Linked DNA regions of Homo sapiens: region 2 is linked to region 1. Evidence: promoter capture Hi-C in human tissues and cell types (Jung and others, 2019). All regions are on one chromosome and are shown on one strand. The core of a region is centred on a gene start or on the middle of the fragment in contact, and the rest is flanking DNA. Distances in the headings are between cores, read along the strand shown.

Region 1 (6,673 bases), core at 3,277-5,776:
CCTAGAAAGATTTGACACTCAGAAAATAACTTCACTTGGAATATGTATCGTTATTACAATTCACCTCTTAACCAACTTTTTCAATTAGCCAATCCAGGAAAAAGCATCCTGCTTTGATATAAACTGAACTGTGAAATATTCCATAATCAGATTCTTCAGCCAAGTATTCATACCTCTAGGCAACATTTTTCATTCGGTAGGTGGTTTGTAAATACGTGTGTAACAGTCATTGCTACTTTTTCATCTGCCCTACATTGCCTCCTTTTAGGAACTGCCCCTCTCTCACTCTATGTAATTCTAGTGAGGTTGTTACCTTACCTGCCACAGGGTAGGCTGATAACCCAGGTTAGCCAAAGTGCCCCATTCTGGACACAGCAATTGGTCTAACCTTGGCCTATCAGAGTCCTTTGGAGGAAATGATTTGGATGTTGGGGAAAAGAGTTATTTCTTCTGGATTACTAGCTGGATGGATATGAAAGCCCGGAGTTGCCAGTGGCCATCTTCGTCAACATGTAATGAGACTCAACAAAGAGGAAAACAGAACAACATCCATAACCTCTACTGATATTGATTCATCATCTTCCAGACCTCATCTAATTTAAGTACTCGCTTGACTCAAATCTTGGCAACTTACCATGTAACCTGGAACCAAATGATGCACTAGGTCAACCAGGTTTTCTCTCAAAACCTATGTTTTGTTAATTACAAAACACAGAAAATACTGAATAGTTAACATAAAGTAAAAGGCCATGAGACAGCCTTGGAGCTCTATAGGGTAATGGAAAGACAGAATTTTAAAGGAAAAAACAAGTAGACAGAGCAGATGTTCTTCAGATGTCCCACGAGCGAGAAAAGGAGTCACATATCTCTAGCACTGCTTAGATTCCTTATAGTTTTCCAGTACTAGATGCATATAGGATAGGAATGGTTCATTCATTTGAAATACATTTACTAAGAGCTTGTAAATGTTTAATATATGTGATCGATTAAATTGTAATAGAAAAATATTCACTTCCTCTTTGTCACCTCCAAGGAAGGAGTTGTATTTCCCTGCCCCTTGAATTTGGCCTTTGCCAAATATCTTACTTTGGCCAATAGGAAATAAACACATGATGTGAGCAGGGGTTTAAAATGTGTCTCTGTGGTTGGGCTTGCTCTTATACCTCTGCTATCACCATGAGGACTTCAGCCCACTAGTCCAAAGATTAGAGACATATGGACCACATGTGCATCATAGAGATACCCAGATGACTACAGCCTATGTCGGTCAGCTCCCAGGTGGCCCCCAGATGCACCAACAAAATAAATACTAACTGTTGTATGCCACTGTGATGTTGCGGTTCTTACTTAGCAATAGCTTACTGATAAAATACACTAAGGACTAGGTGCTATGCGCCACTTAAAGACTGTCCTTACTCTCAGGCTTTCCACAGACACTGAACAACATCTACTAAAAATCAATTAACCAGGCCCTGTGCTAGGTGCAGAGGATGTAAATTAATAAAACATCACCTTTTCCCAGGGTGAATGCCCATTCTAGTAAGAAAAAGAGACCCTGATCACATGATCATAAAATAATATAAAGGGCTCATTGGTAGAGTTGGCTGAGGGTCTAACTTAGCCCAGAGGCATTAGGGGTGGCTTCACAGAAGAGTAGTTTGAAATGGAAGTGTGAAGAATGAACAATCATTCACCAAGTAGAGAAGATAAAAAGACTATAAGCAGGCAGATATATACCAAAAGTTTCGATGTCAGAACGTGTGGGGACTTCATGTAACAGCCACAGCTGAAACTTGTCACTGTTTTCATTTAGACCGCAATTTAGAATGAACATAAGTGCTGTAGTTTTTACTATACTGAGAATCACTGAAAGCCAGGTATCATGGCATACCCCTGTAATTCCAACTACTCAGGAGGCTGAGGTGGGAGGATTGCTTGAGCCCAGGAGTTACCTGCCTGGGCAACAAGCAAGACTCTATCTTATTTAAAAAAAAAAAAAAAAAAAAAAGGAAGGGTGGGGGCGGTGGGCGTGGCAGGCATGGTGGCTGATACCTGTAATCCCAGCACTTCGGGAGGCGAGGCAAGTGAATCACCTGAGGTCAGGAGTTTGAGACCAGCCTGGCCAACATGGCGAAACTCCGTCTCTACTAAAAACACAAAAATTAGCTGGGCGTAATGGCGAGCACCTGTAATCCCAGCTATTCGGAAGGCTGAGTACGGGAGAATTGCTTGAACCAGGGAGGCGGAGGCTGCAGTGAGCCGAGATTGCGCCATTGCACTCACGTCTGGGCAACACAGTAAGGCTCTGTATCGAAAAAAAAAAAAAAAAAAGAAGGGGGTTGCCGGGCACGGTGGCTCATGCCTGTAATCCCAGTACTTTGGGAAGCCGAGGTGGGTGGATCACCTGAGGTGGGGAGTTCGAGACCAGCTTGACAAACATGGAGAAACCCCGTCTCTACTTAAAAAAAAAAAAAATTAGCCAGGCGTGGTGGTGCATGCCTGTAATCCCAGCTACTGGGGAGACTGAGGAAGGAGAATCATTTGAACCCTAGAGGCGGAGGTTGTGGTGAGCGGAGATGGCAGCCATTGCAGTCCAGCCTGGGCAACAAGAGGGAAACTCCATTTCAAAAAAAAAGGAGGGGGGAAGGGGGGTTGAGTCCACTCTCCCCAGCTCACGCCAGATCTCATTTCAGTGGTCACTATTAAAAAAAATTAGATATTTACTTTATTATAGATACTTCCTATGATGATCTGTGAGGACATGCATTTTCTTATCCTGTAATACCATTTGTAACAATAGCAAAACCAGATCATTACTGGTCTGGAAAGACTGTCAATGTATCAGCAAATAAATCTTAATTAACTCTGATGATCTACTTAACTCATAACTCTAAAAGCACTAAAAGACCACTGTATGAAAAGGTGACTCAAGGCAACTGCAAACAAAGTGATCCCCAAAATACTAAAAGCACAATCTCAAGTAAAGTGGCAATAGCTGGGAAACTCTTTTCCAAACACAACTGTCAGAAATGGAAAAATGTCCTCCTGAGTAAAGTTTTCGGCAGAAAACTTCAGGCAGAGGCATAACACTGCTATGCAAAAACAATAACCAGACTTCACTTCAAGAAGTGAGCGAAGAATGTGAGTGATCATAAATCAGAACTTCCGTCAAGCTTGCACGAGTGGAGTTGTAAGTAACAGCAGAAACTTTGAAGTACCAGAAGATACCATCATTCAAAAACGAACACACTTTGACTAGCCCACCTTGGACACGGAGAATCTCGCTGATCACTACAAACTACAAGATAATCATTTAACTTTGAGACCTCAGTGAGAGAGGGTATCAGCTTTTCCTACTCCTTGCACGCTCCGCTGTACGGAAGATGCCGAGGGAACGCATGCCGTGTCTCAGTCCCGGCATAGTCAACCACGCTGGGCAAAAGACGGGGCCAGAGGGTGCAGACGAATATCGGTAACTCGAACCAGGCTGGGAGTTAAGCTAGAAGAAACTGGGGAAGGAGGCAAAACAGAAGCAGGAAAAGAGCAGTGGGGAGCGGCGGGCGCACCAGAGACTGGCGAGAAGGGGAAAAGTCCCCCAGACGCACAAAAATGTCTAGAAGGGGTTCTTCTACTTCGATCTGAGTTTCCCAGGAGCTCAGCCTTGGCTGTCCCGCTCCCCACCCAACCCCACATGATTCCTCCTCTTGGATGGGACGCTTAGGTGAAGCGAGGGGGAGCTTCGCAGGTGGCTCCCGGCAAACTGAGAAGGGTCTCCCAGAGCTGCCAAGAGGAAAGAACTGCGAACAGTCGCTCCCCCGGTACGTGAGAGAGGAGTGACCAGAGGCAAAGGTGAGGCGAGCAGGTTCTCCCTTACCTGCCGCAGGAGCTTCCACCGGGCGGCTCCCAGGGGCGCCGAGACTACGGGCCCCCGAGTGGTGCAGCCAACTGCCGGACTCCCGCCCGCTGCTCGCGCGGTCTCGCCGGTCCCAGCGTCCGCGACTCGCGACTCCATCTCACTGGAGCCTTCCACACCCGGAGGTGCCACCGCCGCAGCTCGTCCCCTGCCAGGACCTGCCAACTTCTTCCCTGTCAGGACCTGTGACGCCCGGCACCCTCCCTCCACCGGACCAGGCATGCGCGCTCTCCCCGAATTCCGCATTTCCGGTACTCGCATCTCCTTGGCAACCAGGGCCGAGCTGTCACGCCATTGCACCATTCTTGCTGGTAGCCATCTTGAGTGAGGGCGGACCAGAGGATGAGAGAGCTGTGGCAGGGCTACTGGAACGCTGTCCCTCATTGTTTTAGCCTTCTGTGCTTCATCTCGAGCTCAGAAGACTAGCGAAGAACGAAAAGTCTTATATATTTCGAGACTAAAGAACCCAGGAACCCAAGAAGACTCCTTGACCACAACAAAGATGGCGAAATCTGCCTGTTGCTCGTGCTAGATTGAGGTTACGTAGATTGGCGTGCTGCAAACCAGCTCTAGGCGGCTCTGGGTAAGTTGTCGTTCTGTGGGCTGCGGAACGCAGACTTCGGCTGGACTTGCCTGCGGTGACACCTGCTCCCCTCTGAGAGCTTCAGGTTCTCCGGCCTGCCTTCACTGGTTTGTGTCCAGAGCCGGACTGATTCTCTCAATTTGCGTATGTATGGGGGGTGTGCTGGTCTCTTTCCTTCTCCCCTTTCTCCCCCCGCCCAGCCACCCACCCCTCAGTCCCCAGGTCCTCGCTTTTTGACTAATGTCCCGGCACTGCGTGCGTGTCACCTGGTCCCTCTCCCTGTTGCATTCAGATCGCCTCATCCCTGGGGTGGAGAGTTGCACGGGGTAAACGAATAGGTTCTCCTGAGAACACCCATTTATCTACCCCACCCCCATCCTAGCCTTGCATACTGTCTTCTTGGGGATGAAAGATGGATGGATAAAGGCTGTGGGAACGTGGTGATGTAGGACCTTTGCAGGTCCTTGTTATTCGGGTCTTTTTTCCCCTTTTTTTACTAGTGTCGGCTAGTAAACTAGTGTTGCTCCCCTACCCCCAATCGCCCATTATTTTGCTGCGACATGGAAAGGGATTAAGGGGGGCGGGGGCGTCGTAGCGCATCTGATCTATGGTAAATTTGACGCAGCATTCTACCTTTGATACCAGGGGGCATTTTGTGGAAGACTTCCATAATGACATTCAGCGGTGTGCAACATACCTAGATTATTCCTGTCGTAAATAATAGCAACTGCCATTTATTGAGTGGTCACTATGTGCCAGGCACTGTATGGTCTTAATGTTAAGCTGTCTCATTTTGTCTTTACAACAACAACCCTAGAAGGTAAATGGTGTCATTTCATTTTTGCAGATGAAGAAACTGAGGCCCGGAGACACAGTTAAGTGTAGGAGCTAAGACCTCAACCCAGGTCTCTCTGACTCTTAACTACTTATTAGCAATCAAGGTTAATAAAAGCTACCTCCTGACAAACCAGAGATGGCCTTACATTTTATTTGTGCATCTTGCAGGGGTTTTTTGTTGTTTTTAATTAAAGCGCTAAATACCTTTTTAACATTAAAAATCCGAAGTTGAGTATGTCCAGTATTTGGAACCGAACCAAATTGGATTTTTTGCTATACAGCTTACTGTACAAGTGACCTGGAACAGTTGCTTAGAACCTCCCACAGCCACAGTTTGGCAACCTGTAAAATGTGCATGGTAATATCTACTTTATTAAGTCCATATAAAATTTAAATTAGACAAACAAGATAAAAGCACCTGGCAGTTAGTTAACACTCAACAATAATTAATCTTCCCTCCCCCACCTTTATTAAATAATTAGGCTTTTCCAGTTTATCTTCCACATATATACCAAAGATACGTTCATAATTATGTAAGACCAAAGGGCTTTTTACCTTTTACAGCCCTGAGTTCCTGAGATACCCCATTAAGTCTGTGTACTTATTTGCAAATTTATATTTTGTTTCTTGTTTTGTTTTTTGTTTTAGTTTAACCCCTATGTGTGCCAGAGTCAGTGCTGCATAGTTTGAGCCTGATAGGATTAACTTTACAAATGAGACATTTAAGTCACATCTGCCAAGAATTATGATTTGAATGAAACTTTAACTTACACAGGTTTTTAGATTTAGTTAGCCTAAGTTATCAGCTGTCTGAAGTTATTCATAACCTAAGTGGGGCATGGCCCTGAAAAGGAGGGATGAGAACTGCTGATCTTAGTTACTCTGAGAACCCACTACTCTGTAATCATACCTATAAAATCATTCGTGTGCTGGCAGCCCCAAAAGGAGCATAAACCAGGGACTTTGATATCATGCAGCAGAAGACCAAATTATTTCTCCAAGCTTTGAAGTATAGTATTCCTCACCTTGGAAAATGCATGCAGAAACAGCATTTGAATCACTATAACTTCGCTGATCATTGTTACAATAGAATAAAATTGAAAAAATATCACCTAACCAAGTGTCTTCAGAATAAACCCAAGATATCAGAGTTAGCAAGAAACATCCCAAGTCGGAGCTTCTCATGTAAGGTATGGACTGTTTAAGTTAACCTATTTGTAGGTCATTAAGATTAATTTTAATTTAAAAATAAAGAATGGGTAGAATATCAGAGCTACTAATTTTCTCAGTAATTCTAACTTGATTTTTCTAATTTTCAAGTCTCAATTGTCTCTAGTCAA
Region 2 (6,645 bases), core at 3,869-6,368, 1.1 Mb before region 1:
GGACTCCCTGCTCTCCCCCAGGCATGATAATGGGGACTTAGGGTCTCAAGACTTGCAGTTCCAGCATTAAAGACATTATGAAGCAGGGACCTGATTCAGCACCTCAGCTTTCTATCAGGATTGATTAGCTTATGCTGTCGTTCCCATGGCATACTGTGCAGAAGGCCAACATCTGTGTGAAGCCAACCTGCTGGGAATCAGTCTTTGGCATGTCAATTCGTTCTTAGGAGGCAACTGTTTTATATTCTGACTTTGAGTTAATGCCCTAGATCCTGTCCAATATGGTCTCTGACATATCCCAAGTCAGACCTCTCTAGAGGGTCTGCCTGACAGGAGCCACTTAACTGTGTCCCCATCATGTATGTGTCAGCCTACAACTTCTTCCTTCTGACTTTTCTTACTCAAGACACCTAATACTGAAGTTTTGAGGCAAACGTCTGTTCCTAGCCATTGAACTTTCTCTAGTAGCAGGTACATCATAGAGGATTTGGCAAGGGAAAACACCCTGGCCTTTACTTTTTAAACCATGTTTCCATTTTTGTTGAACTTTACTGGGGAAAAATTGTAGAACTTGAGCCTTTAAATTTAATGTCTGTTGAGATGAAAACGTTTCATAGGTGAGTTATCAGTAGTTGAAAAGTATATATGACTCTTAGTAATAGCTATTATTAAAACAATGATGGACTCTGGCATGGTTTAAGTCACTGACAACATGGTTTTTCTATGCTGTCTAACATTGGTTTCTTTAATATGTTTCTGACTTTGTTCCGTGGCTTGACTAACACTAATTCCTTTTCTACTTTTTTTTTTTTTTTTTTTTTTTTTTTTTACCTCTGGGAAGATATTGCTTCTGTGCATTTCACACTATAGAGAGAAACTTGCCTCATTGTGACCCCTAACCTATGTAGTAAATCCTCTAAAATTAATTTTGGTTCCTTCTGATCTGTGCCCCCATGTGACTCCCCCCAAGATTTCATTATTAGATTTTGACAGCCTTTTAAATTTGTAAATGCCACAAATTTGTCACTAGAGATGAATGGGTAAAAAGAAAATTCCTTGCAGTGGAGGATATGGGTAAAATATTTCAAGTGACAGATCTGCATCAATAATGTTAATGTTTATGGGGTGATGAAAACCATGTAAGTCTTAAGCCAGAATCTTTTTTCAGCTGAGTCCCAGAAATTTTGACCACAGAAGCCAAGGCACATTCCGTTTATTCCAACAAGTGTTTTTTCACATCCTTTCCAACTGTCTGAAAGACAATTGTCACTCTTAAATGCCTGAAACTTTAGATGCTTTTTCTACTGGATTAGTTAAAAGCAATGGAAACATTGTCTACTGTGGTCGGGATGACTTTTGTCTTGCCTTGAGTTCCTAAAATGGAGAGCAAATTTGACAATGTTATTTTGCCCTCTACTTTTTATGTTCATCATCTGGCAAAGTTTTCAAGAAATTTTGCATCATTCTTTCTGACTGACTTCTGAAGGCTTACTTTCATGCCAGAAGGTTGCCTTTGCTGAATGAACGTTGAGTGGTCACAGGGCCAGAGGCTTTGTCTCTTACTGATACCAAAGGAGTTCCCCAACTTGAGTGGCTTCTGATGCCAGTGCAGAAGAGCATTAGTATTTGAGCAGTTGAGAAGTACATTCAGAGGAAATTTAGAGAAAAAGATTATTGAAATTATCCCAATTATGATGCCAACTAACATATGTATGTGATTATTTTTAACTAAAGAAGAAGGATAAAGAACTTTGAACCAGTATAGTGTGGTCCTTTGTCTATTTATTTGCATATTTTGATTTTTAAATAATGAACAAAAAGGATTCATTCAAAGCAAAGCTATTTTAAACTTACCCTGAAAAGTTAAAAGTGATTCTTTGGGAAAAGAAGGAAAAAAGATTTAAAAAAAATTACCACTGTCCCACCTTCACCCAAGTGTATACAGGAGGTTTCCATGTCTTTACATATTAACAAGCTTATTTCTTTACTAAAGTTATGTGGATATTTTGGTAAAGAAATGATAAGCTTGTTATTGTTATCTCTAACTTCTAGGCTCAAGTGACTCTCCCACCTCAGTCTCCTGAGTAGCTAGGACTACAGGTGCACCACCACACCCAGGTAATTTTTAATTTTTTTTGTAAAGTTAGGGTCTCACTATGTTGCCCAGGCTGGTCTCAAGCTCCTGACCTCAAGAGATCCTCACGCCTTGTCCTTCCAAAGTTATGGTATTATAGGTGTGAGCCACTGCTCCTGGCCAGTATAAATATTAATATGTTCTGGTGTTAGTACTGTAAAATGGATTTTCTTATGTAGAGCTGTTGAAGAACTTTAAAACTTCCTGTAGATTCTCTGTAACATTTTGTATTTTGCCCCTTAGAATAAAAAACAGCTGCACCAGATTATGAATATTTCTCTGGAAATTCAGCCCTGTAATAGACATTTATGGAGTACCTGTCATTAAAGATTAAGCGCCTGGTCTGATGAAAATTACTAGATATGCGTAAGAAAAAATCTGGAAGCAACACTCTTTGTAAAACTAGTGGGTAGTTATCACCTCTTTTTTTTTTTTTTTTTCAAAATAACTTCAGAACTATTTGCATATAACCACTGCAAAAGAGTTGTTTTGTTTTTCTTTGTTTACTTAGCTGCTTACAGTATACACATTTCCACTTTATTCCCTGATGTTACTGGTTCTTCTCCCTACCACACCCTGCCTGTCTGCCAAAGTTTTAGATGTTTACAGTGTTCTTCCCATCTGCATGCTAGACAGTTTCTACCTTAAACACCATTGATCTCGTCCCTGAACTCCAAACTCCATATGTCCACCTGCCATCTTAACCTTTCAATTTGGAAGTCTAATAGGCTTCTCAAACTTAACATGTCTAGAAAAAAACTGTTGACGTCCCTCCACTAATCCCCCCCACCAAAATTTTAAAATTAAAACCGCAGTACTGTCTTATCCTTCCCTGTTTCTATTAATGGCATCATCATCTGCCCAATTAGTAAAACTGCAAACCTGTTGTCATTAAAAACTTCTTGTTATTAAGATTCTTTATTCTTCCTTTTGCTTCATCATTCTCTACTATTAACTCCATCTGCTTCTTTCCCTCTTTTTCCTCCAGCTACCTGACTCTAGGCAGCCATCATCTCCCTCTTGATATACTGAGAAAGTCTCTTACCAGGACTTCCTGTTTTCACTTTTGTCTTTTTAAAATCCATTTTCTACAGCATAATTTTTAAAAAGTATGTCAGATCCCATCTCTGTTCCCGTTGTCTCTGGAATAAAATTCAAACTCCTTGCCATGGAGACTTACAAGAGCTTGTCTACTCTCCAGCCTTATTTCTTAGTACTTTCCCCTTTTTTTGGTTATGTCTCAGCCAGATTGCCCTCCTTTCAATTTCAGCACTGTAGCTTGTTACTACGTGTGGCCATTCAAAACAGTAGATATTTATTACAAACTTACTTTTAGGGACGAGACACTACTGCCTCCAGAGAAGGAAAGAAATTTTGTTAGAATATTATAAAAGGGTGGCATGTAAAGGTAGCTAGACTGCCTTATCTCCATTTCTTCTCAGTGTCAGAAAACTCTCAAACTAAAATGGAAATAAGTTGCTGATTCACTTTAAAACCCAAACTTACTTAAAATAAACTGTCAGTTCTAAGCTGAGATTTACTCCAATAGAATATTCCCTTGATGGGTTGAGAATGAATAAGATGAATTATCTGAGTCCTGATCTTGCTCATATAGCTGTTTCTTTAAGGACCAACATTTGGTTCCTATACCGTAGGATTCTCTCCCTGGTAAAGAGGAGTTAGTAATATCCATATCTCTTTTCTAAATTCCAGAATTCTTCAATTTGTATTTTCTTTAACTCTGTGACCTAGCCGTTGTCCACGGCACAGTTAGTCTGTGGGTCAAATGGGTGTGGTTTCACCTAATTCTCCCAGAACGGGAGATATTGCAGGAAAATGAGTCCTACTACAATGAACATTAAAGAAAAGATTATGTCTAAAGGCAACATTTTCATATAAGTTTTTTCCCATATCTATTAATTGCATCAAGGTATGTGTCTGTACCAACGTATGCTGTTGGACCTTTCTGTTAGAGGTGCTTAATTGGTTTCTGACCATGTCAGTTATAAGATAGAGAATCTGTCTGTGGTAAATGACATCCCATAAATGAGTTTCATAAGGCTTGACCTGGGAGCTGACATGTCAGGACTTCCTAGTGTGTCTTTGCATACCGGTTCTAAATCTCCCAGCTTCTTTGGTATCTTTTTATTGTATGACAAGATGCTGTACTTTAGTTCATGTTTGAAGCGACAGAAGCTTAAGTTTTGAGTTCCCAGGAAAAGAAAGACTTAAACATTTCCAATTAAAGCATCAGAGATTAGTCTGACTAGGGTGTGAGTTAACAGGAACTCTTTATTGACCTAAAAACCTACCCAGAAAGTATTGGCATGAGAATTTGGCAGCTTGGAGTGGGAGGGCCTATGGCTATGGTCAGTCTTAACATGTTAGGACATCTTAAATTTCACTTTAAAATTTCTGAGTTTGCTGTTGATTGATGCCTGCTAAGAAAGCGTTTCTATAATAGGAATTGAGATTGTGCTGCTGTAATGCCCTCAAGCAATGCCACGTCACCAGTATCTCCTCCTATTTTAGGGCAATTCTTTTTCTTAAACCAAATTCCCAGCTTCAGCAAGAAGAATCCAAAAGCCGAACTGTTAGAAATTTGTCCCTGGTTTTTCCTTCCTTTACCCAATTTATTGAGTAGCTACTATGTACTAAGAAGCATGGTGTTAAGAAGTGGGAATACAAAGAAAAGTCTAAATGGCCAGCAAATGAACAAAGAGATCTTCAACTAAACCAGTACTTAAGGAAATAAAATTAAAGCAGCAGTTAGAGTGAGTACGTACTATGTACCAGGATACAATAACAAATCATATTTATTTACTTACACACATACACACCTGTGTGCATCAGGTGATAATAAATACTATGGATAAAATAGGAAATGGGGATAGGAACAGTATGGGAGGCAGAGTTTTGCAGCCTGGTCTTCACTGCCACCAGTGCATGAGGCTAGGTGTGGAGGATCATTGCAGATCACATGGAGTGCCTGGGCTCTGTCGCCATGGTTATGTAGAGATGGGACATGGAAGCGAAAGGAAACCTTTCCTTTCCATATTAACTCTCTGACTCCACATTAATGTGGATCCTGTCCTGGCAGTGTCAGCCTCAGGTCTAATTTGAAAGGTTTACTGTCTATAATAATAATGGGCTGGAAGCCAGTTCACATCTGACTACATGTGTGGCCACATACATGTATGTGTATTTGGGAAGAGAAAATGTATCTTTAGAACTTACTACTGGAAACATTAGGAAAGAGCCTTTTTTCTACATGTGGAGAAGAAAAGCCTTTTTTTATTATTATGCGTTAATACTCTTTTTTTCTCCAACCTCTGTCTCCTCAAACAGACAAATAATTTAAACATGGCTGTCAAAATTTCTGAACACCAGGAGGATGCCTCCCTGCCTTCCCTCCCTCCTTCCCTCTATTTCTGTCTCTCTCTTTCTGTCTCTCTCACACAGAACCATAGTTTCAGATCAGATTTTCTACACACTGTTTTAATTTATTAGAAGGGAAAAATTCTTTCTTATGGCTAAAAGTTTGCACTCTTGATTTTTCTAAAGTCCACTTTTATGACTAAGCTATAAATCTCTAAAAATAGAGATTTACAGTGGAAATGTCAACTCCTTTGTATTATGTCAGGTCAAAATGTGTAGCTAATTGGTGTGCATTTGTTCATGCATATGTCATGAGCCAGAACTATGTTTTAGCCCAGTGACCACACATGGGGGCAGATAGGTGTGGTCCAGTTCAGATATACTAATGTTTTCTTTGTTTATGGTAAATTAGAATAGTGCAAGGTACTGGTTTGGAAAAATATGTGGGCAAGGCAGACATTTAGGATTTATGAACCTTTACTTAGCCAGTATTGCCCTATCATTCGTCCACCATATCGACCTGTATCCACTAGGGGACATAAGAACACCTACTGGAGGAAAGAATGAAAGTTTGTCTGCATTAAAATTTAAACACAGGACTCTTAGATAACATACAAAAAGACTCATTTTTTTAGTTTCATGATTCATAAAGAAGTTATATATTTTGTTTAAATTTTAATCATCACCAGAAACTTTTAAAGGCAGGATCAGTATCTTAACGTCTATTTATGGAATGAGAACCAAACAAGCAGCTAACTAGCAAGCTTGTGTCATTAACTGACTACCTATGTGGTCTACAGAAGCTATGCTGAGAATGATTCTGGCTTTACAAAATACTTTATATAGAAAAGGATTACCTTTTAGAGTCAGGAGGTGAGACATCTGGGGAGGACATCTGCTATCAGATTGCAGTGGACAAAAACCAGAAGTGTTCTATATTTTGCACCCCGGCCACTAGCTATGAAACCCGAGAGACAGATGTTAAGGGCACTGCTGTTGTCTTCTAAACTGATTATCTGGCCTACCAGGTTAGAAACTTAGGTTGTATTTTTTACTTATGGTTCTTTTTTTTTTTCGGTATGATCTACCTGCAGAAAAAAATGCAAAGATTTTAAGTGATACAGTCTTTATAG

Evidence for each region. The method cuts DNA at HindIII sites, captures the fragments that hold promoters and counts their contacts. A contact is called where the count stands out against the background at its distance.
Region 2: a contact is called between a fragment that was not itself captured here and the fragment with the promoter of PREPL in region 1, in 1 of the 25 tissues and cell types used here (aorta).

The regions. Positions count from the first base shown.
Region 1 is chr2:44,359,347-44,366,019 of GRCh38, reverse strand. PREPL (prolyl endopeptidase like) reads left to right here and starts at 4,526. Exons shown (of 14, transcript NM_001171613.2): 1 at 4,526-4,640. CAMKMT (calmodulin-lysine N-methyltransferase) reads right to left here and starts at 4,073. Exons shown (of 11, transcript NM_024766.5): 1 at 3,875-4,073. The coding sequence starts at 4,012. RefSeq lists enhancers at 3,366-4,259, 3,978-4,447, 3,684-4,883, 4,260-5,154. The HindIII fragment of the contact is 8,691 bases long and covers 1-6,673 here.
Region 2 is chr2:45,439,735-45,446,379 of GRCh38, reverse strand. All of the region lies in intron 16 of SRBD1 (S1 RNA binding domain 1), which reads left to right. Among named protein-coding and RNA genes, the nearest start is that of SRBD1, 170 kb to the left of the region's middle. The HindIII fragment of the contact is 3,880 bases long and covers 3,179-6,645 here.